Regions from separate parts of the Homo sapiens genome. Here region 2 is linked to region 1. Evidence: promoter capture Hi-C in human tissues and cell types (Jung and others, 2019). All regions are on one chromosome and are shown on one strand. Each heading gives the region's core, a stretch centred on a gene start or on the middle of the fragment in contact. The rest is flanking DNA. Distances are from core to core; before and after follow the strand shown. Region 1 holds the start of SCGB1D4 (secretoglobin family 1D member 4). Region 2 has its middle 13 kb from the start of SCGB1D2.

The links. The method cuts DNA at HindIII sites, captures the fragments that hold promoters and counts their contacts. A contact is called where the count stands out against the background at its distance.
Region 2: a contact is called between a fragment that was not itself captured here and the fragment with the promoter of SCGB1D4 in region 1, in 4 of the 25 tissues and cell types used here (H1 embryonic stem cells, heart right ventricle, mesenchymal stem cells and 1 more).

What each region holds. Positions count from the first base shown.
Region 1 is chr11:62,297,504-62,300,581 of GRCh38, reverse strand. SCGB1D4 (secretoglobin family 1D member 4) reads left to right here and starts at 1,507. Exons shown (of 3, transcript NM_206998.2): 1 at 1,507-1,626; 2 at 2,924-3,078. The coding sequence starts at 1,572. The HindIII fragment of the contact is 5,452 bases long and covers 1-3,078 here.
Region 2 is chr11:62,227,660-62,230,737 of GRCh38, reverse strand. No RefSeq gene overlaps it. Among named protein-coding and RNA genes, the nearest start is that of SCGB1D2, 13 kb to the left of the region's middle. The HindIII fragment of the contact is 5,846 bases long and covers 1-3,078 here.

The sequences.
Region 1 (3,078 bases), core at 258-2,757:
AAATGAGAAAACTGGGGTTACATAAACTGAATAATTTTCCTAAGGTCCAGGAGCCCATAAATGAGGATCTGAACCCTCATAGCTGTAAACCTCACCACCAACCCTCCCCCTCCTTGGTGGCAGCAGGGCTGATTCAGGGACTCCGTCGTCATCCTGTGTGATGAAAGTGAGATCCACTGTTGCCCTCAGCTTGGACTCAACTAAATCTGTCAATGTGTCTTTGATGACAAAACCCGTAAGGTCCCCTTCCTTCTTAAAGGTTTTCCTGGCTGGATCTCAGCCCTGCTGTCTGTGAGAAACACCAGAGCAGTTTAAACAGTACAGAAAGGAGGGATTCACCCCAATGCTACTGAATCAAAATCGCCAGAGAGAGAAGCCTGTGGGGTCAGTATGTTTTAAAAGCTCCAAGTGATTTGACTACATAGCTGAGAATGGAAAGCTATGGCCTGGGCTGTGACTCCTCTCAAATGTAAGTTTATTTAAGAGAAAAATTTCTGGTGATTAAACTCACACCACATGAAGGCACGGCAATGGGAGGGAAGGCGGGTGTGTATTGCTTTGTCTGGGGGCTTCCTTCACTTTCCCTTAAAAATGGGATTGGCCCAGGCAGCACAGATAGGTTTGAAGTGGAAAACTTGAGCCTAGGGGTTAGGGGGAAGTGACCACCCACCCTGTTCCTCTGTCTCTTCCCTTCTATTATCTTCCCAGCCTAGAGCCCCACTGATGTATGATTGGCTCTGAACACTCCAAAAGCTCTTGAGAAAAAGAGTTAGGTTATTTAATCTTCAGATCAGCCCTAAGATAAGACGTGGGTGGCTACACATCACAGAAAGCTTGCTTTTTATAGATAGAAAATGTGAATCTTGGCCATATATATAACTGCACGTATAAACAAGATTCAGGTTTGGGAGTGAGGCAGGCTAGAGAACAGGTGCAGCAGATGTTTTTCCTCAGCATATCTTCTACAGGTGGGATGTATTCAACTATGTTTTCAGTACCTATGCAGTGAACATGGTGGTGATGGAAGGGGCTGAGGGGAAGGATTAGACTTTCCCAATGTGCAACTGAAACAAGCCTGCTTGTTGTCAGACATGCAGGGGGATCAAAGCAGGGTCTCCTTATGTCCCTGCTCTCCCATAAAGAGAACACAGCCTTCCAGCTTCCTGTGCCTTGTGAAGCCATAATTCACCTGTGCCCCTGCACTGCTACAAAGATAAAAAGAACTAATCAGCAAAAGCTCATAAGGAAATTGAGGATCCCAGGAACATTTCCAGATGTACCTGAACACTCACCTGGAGCACAGAGCAGAGTTCTCACAAGGCTGCTGTCTTGTGCTCCGCCCCACTCAGATGCAGAGATTCCTAAGGAGGTGACATTGATGGACGGCAGCAGCCCTGGCTTGGAAGGGCGGGCTGGGAGCCAGGCCTCATGACCTACCAGGTGCCCCGGTAGGTAGGACCAGCCAGGCTCCCTAGGTACAAATAGCCCTGGCCTCCATGACTACACAGGCTCCTGGAGTCGAATCCAAATCACTCATTGTGAAAGCTGAGCTCACAGCCGAATAAGCCACCATGAGGCTGTCAGTGTGTCTCCTGATGGTCTCGCTGGCCCTTTGCTGCTACCAGGGTGAGTACATCAGTCATGAGTCCAGCACCAGCCCCTGGGATGCACCCTCTTCTGAGCACAAGATCACCTATTTGTGCTTTGGGTTGGGGTCTGCACAAAACCAAACAAAATTCCAAACCCTTTTCTGTGCTTGTTGAATAAGATTCATAAAGGTTAGAGCTATTTCTTCTTTCTTCTTCCTTTTTTTTTTTTTTTTTTTGAGAAGTTTTGCTCTTGTTGCCCAGGCTGGAGTGCAGTGGCATGATCTTGGCTCACTGCAACCTCTGCCTCCGGGGTTCAAGTGATTCTCCTGCCTCAGCCTTCCTGAGCAGCTGGGATTACAGGCATGGGCCACCACAGCTGGCTAATTTTGTATTTTTAGTAGAGATGGGGTTTCTCCATGTTGGTCAGGCTGGTCTCGAACTCCCGACCTCAGATGATCTGCCCGCCTCGGCCTCCTAAAGTGCTGGGATAACAGGCATGAGCTACTGCGCCTGGCTGCTTAGAGCTATTTCTTCTAATCCCCAGTATCTAAGAAGTTTTATAGAAAAATCAGTTCAGGCAAATGTTAGGAATTCTTCTGCCTGAGCTTCACTTCTGAATGGGATCTGTGTCAGATGATGTAATGTGAGGTCTGGGGTGAACCTGGGCTTCGACACTTCCCACCCCTTGATCTTGGGCACAATGCTCACCCTCCTTGAGCCTCCTCTTATCACTGGTGGTTAAAGCTTCTGCCAGGAGTGGCTATGAGAATGAAGTAAGGTTATGGTTGTCAAGAGTCAAGCTGTGGGCCAGGCATGGTGTCTCATTCCTGTAATCTTAGCACTTTGGGAGGCCACAGTGGGCAGATCACTTGAGCTCAGGAGTTCAGCACCAGCCTGGGCAACATGGCGAAACCCCATCTCTACAAAAAAAAAAAACAAAACAAAACACACACACACACACACACACACACACACACACACAAAAGCGGGCATGGTGGCAGGCACTGGTAGTCTCAGCTACTTTGGGGGCTGAGGGAGGATCGCTTGAGCCCAAGACATTCAGGCTGCAGTGAGCCGAGATTGTGCCACTGCATTCCAGTCTGGGTGAACCTATCTCAAAAAAAAGAAAAAGAAGTCTAGCTGAGGATATGAAGCTCTTCCCTTTGTTGTGTGACCCGGAGAAAGTCACACCTGGAGTTTCTGGTATTGTCATCAGCACAATAATGGTATAGAAACATAGAACCCAGGGGATCCTGTCTGGTGTAACCTCAGGGAGCCATGAGAGAAAAATCGACTTTCCTAACATCAACAATATTTTTATTTTTGTGCTGCAGCCCATGCTCTTGTCTGCCCAGCTGTTGCTTCTGAGATCACAGTCTTCTTATTCTTAAGTGACGCTGCGGTAAACCTCCAAGTTGCCAAACTTAATCCACCTCCAGAAGCTCTTGCAGCCAAGTTGGAAGTGAAGCACTGCACCGATCAGATATCT
Region 2 (3,078 bases), core at 407-2,906, 70 kb after region 1:
GACTCATTGATTGTTTAGTAGTCAGATGTTTAATTTCCAAGTTATTGGAGGATTTCTTGTTATCCTGTTCTTGATTTTAATTTGACTCAATTATGGTCACAGAACATGGTTTATATGATCTCAATTATTTTATTTGCTTTTATTTGTTTGTTTCTTTTTGAGACAGGGTCTCACTCCATTGTCCATTCTGGAGCACAATGGCATGATTTCAGCTCACTGCAGCCTCAACCTCCCTGGCTCAGGTGATCCTCTTGCTTCAGCCTTCTGAGTAGCTGAGACTACAGACATGCACCACCATGCCCAGCTAATTTTTGTACTTTTTGTAGAGATGGGGTTTGCCATGTTGTCCAGGCTGGTCTGGAACTCCTGGGCTCACACGATCCACTCACCTCAGCCTCCCAAAGTGCTGGTATTACAGGCATTGTTAATGGTGGAGGGTGTCCAGGTTCTTGGCATCTTGAATGAAGAATTGGACAAAACGCACAAATAAAGCAAGCAAGGAATGAAGGGATTTACTGAAAATGAAAGTATGTTCCACAGCGTGGGAGTGGGCCCGAGCATAGGGGCTCAAAGGCCCCACTACAGAATTTTTGGGAGTTTAAATACCTGCTAGAGGATTCCATTGGTTACTTGGGGTAAGCCCTATGTAAATGGAGAGGATGAAGTAAAATGACAAAGTCATTGAGTTGGCCTACGCCCTATGGAGAGGATATTTCCTCTCATAGCTGAAGTGTGAATTGGCCTTATGTTCTCTGCCTCCAGAACCTATTTTTCTGCATCATCTCCCCCGTGAGGGATGTGATCTCCATAAGTCTTTATGGGAGGCAGAGGGACTGATGGTCTTTTTTCTGTAACTGCTTCATGTTGACTTGGGGATCATGGAACTCTCACCCTGTTCTGTCTAGTGGAGGTGGAGTAGCTTCTTGATGGCATTGGGGCGGTGTCTTCACCTGGAATTGGCTGGAACCTTTGTTGCATGATTATCTGAAGCTTGAAGGTCTCTAGGCAAGAGGAAATGAATTTGGTTAAAAGATTTAATGGGAACTTCAGGGGGCAGATACCTCCGCTCTTAGAAATTTTCATTATAGAGATTTGCAAGAGAAAAAACAAAACCTGGTCTGTTCTAGAATCTATGTGTTTCCTTAAAGTCTTAGCACAAGCAACTCCATTTTGGTTTGGTTTGGTTTGTTGGGGCCTAGTGCATGACCTTAGTCCAAAACAATGACCGCCCTAGAATTTTGTTTTTAAAATTCCCCCTTTATGGACAAGTTCTCACTTAGGTGAGAGTGTGACACAAACTTAGGGGCTTAACGCCACTCTCAGTTACCATTATTTTGGGTTTCTGGTCTCAGCACATCATTTATAGGTTACAGGGTCCTCATGGTCGCACATTTCTTTTAGCCCCTGTTATTCCAGTTGAAGGGAGACCATATGACATTCTAGAGATGGCTGAGTAAAAGTATTTAAAACCTTTGAGAGAATACAGTGCACCAGAGAGACTACTGGGAGGATAATACCAAGAGTTTGCAGTATGCTCCTCACCCAAGGTCTCCATAAACCAAACCACTTCAAATTAAATAGATCAAATAATGAGCTAGATAAAGTTTACTCTCTTGACTAAGCAATTTCTTCATCAATCCCCTACCACTGAATTTCTCTAATCTTCATTTGATGTAATTCCCCATAGGCCAAAATTGCCAGCAGCTGCACAGGTACTTTTCTGGTTAGCTAATTCTATTATTTAGCATAACTTTCAGAAGAGAATTTAAAGTCTGTTGTGTAAGTGTGGCCTATACAGTAAAGTTTGCTATGGAACCTATCATGAGGGATACATTTCTAATCATTGTCTCTTTTACTTTAAACCACATAAAAAGGACCAAACAAATGATACCCTTCTGGAAGTGTGAAGGCCTCCTGGCAATGTTCTCTTTCAACCCATGATATGGGTTAAGAGGAGTGAACCAAGGTTTTGTTTTTGATGATTGTGAGGCAACGTGTGTACCATTAAAGTTTCTTACCTACCTTGGCCGTTCACCTTTTATCTATCAAAGTATAAGATTACCCAGGTATAAGGCTGGCTGCAAACTCCTTCACAAATAAGAGTATACCCCATAAGGGTGCATAACAGACCCCTTTTCCATTTCTATTGTTCATAGAGGCATAAGCAAGAAAAAAAATTCAAAGATAAGAGTTTCATGATAGTAGAAGTCTCGATCTGTGAACTTGGGAAAAGCTGTTCACATCAAGGATGTCATCTTCTTCTTGGGAGAAGTTTCCGTGGTTAGCTTTTCCTCAAGGGTTCCAATGAATGCACAGTTCCAAAAGCGGGGAGGGACCCCTTCTCAGTTGTGAGACCATGAACCCGAATCCCAAGGCCCCAAAATTTTGTTGTAGTGTGGATGGCAAGGATAGTCTTTTTCTGACGTTTCCAGGAGATTCAAACCATAAAAAGCTTTCTTTACCTGGTGAAAATACACTGTAGCATAATAATCTACTGTTATAACATCATCCCTCTTGCATGGGAAAGCTTTTATACAACCAGAAAACATGCACTGAAAATTAAAATGGGATGAAATCCCTTTATAAAATGTTTAAGTTGCCCACCAGGCGACCAAATGTACCTGAAGCTTTAATTGTTTTCCCAGGAATATGGGATCAAGCATCGGTTATAAATTATTTTAGTAATTTGTAAGCCACTTTACCAATGTATTCAATTGGGATCATTATATCTTTTCCACGATGAGTCATGGAATGCAGAAGTTTTAATAATAAAAGCTTTAAGGACTCAGGAAGGACAAGATGGCCATCCTGTTTCTCCATGAGTCCATGTTTAGTTAACATTAGACTTATATCCTCTTGGATACCAGTTGTTTATCCAAATTAGGCACATAACACTGGCAAGAAAATTTCATTATTTTTGTGGTTTACAATAACTTAACATAATAACCATAATTATAATTGATAGCATATACTTAGACATTAGAATTTTAGAAATCCCATACAATTTAGGAATATATATTAGTATTATTCACAAAAATATAACCTAAAGAAGATTGAACATCATTTTGGCCCATGTAC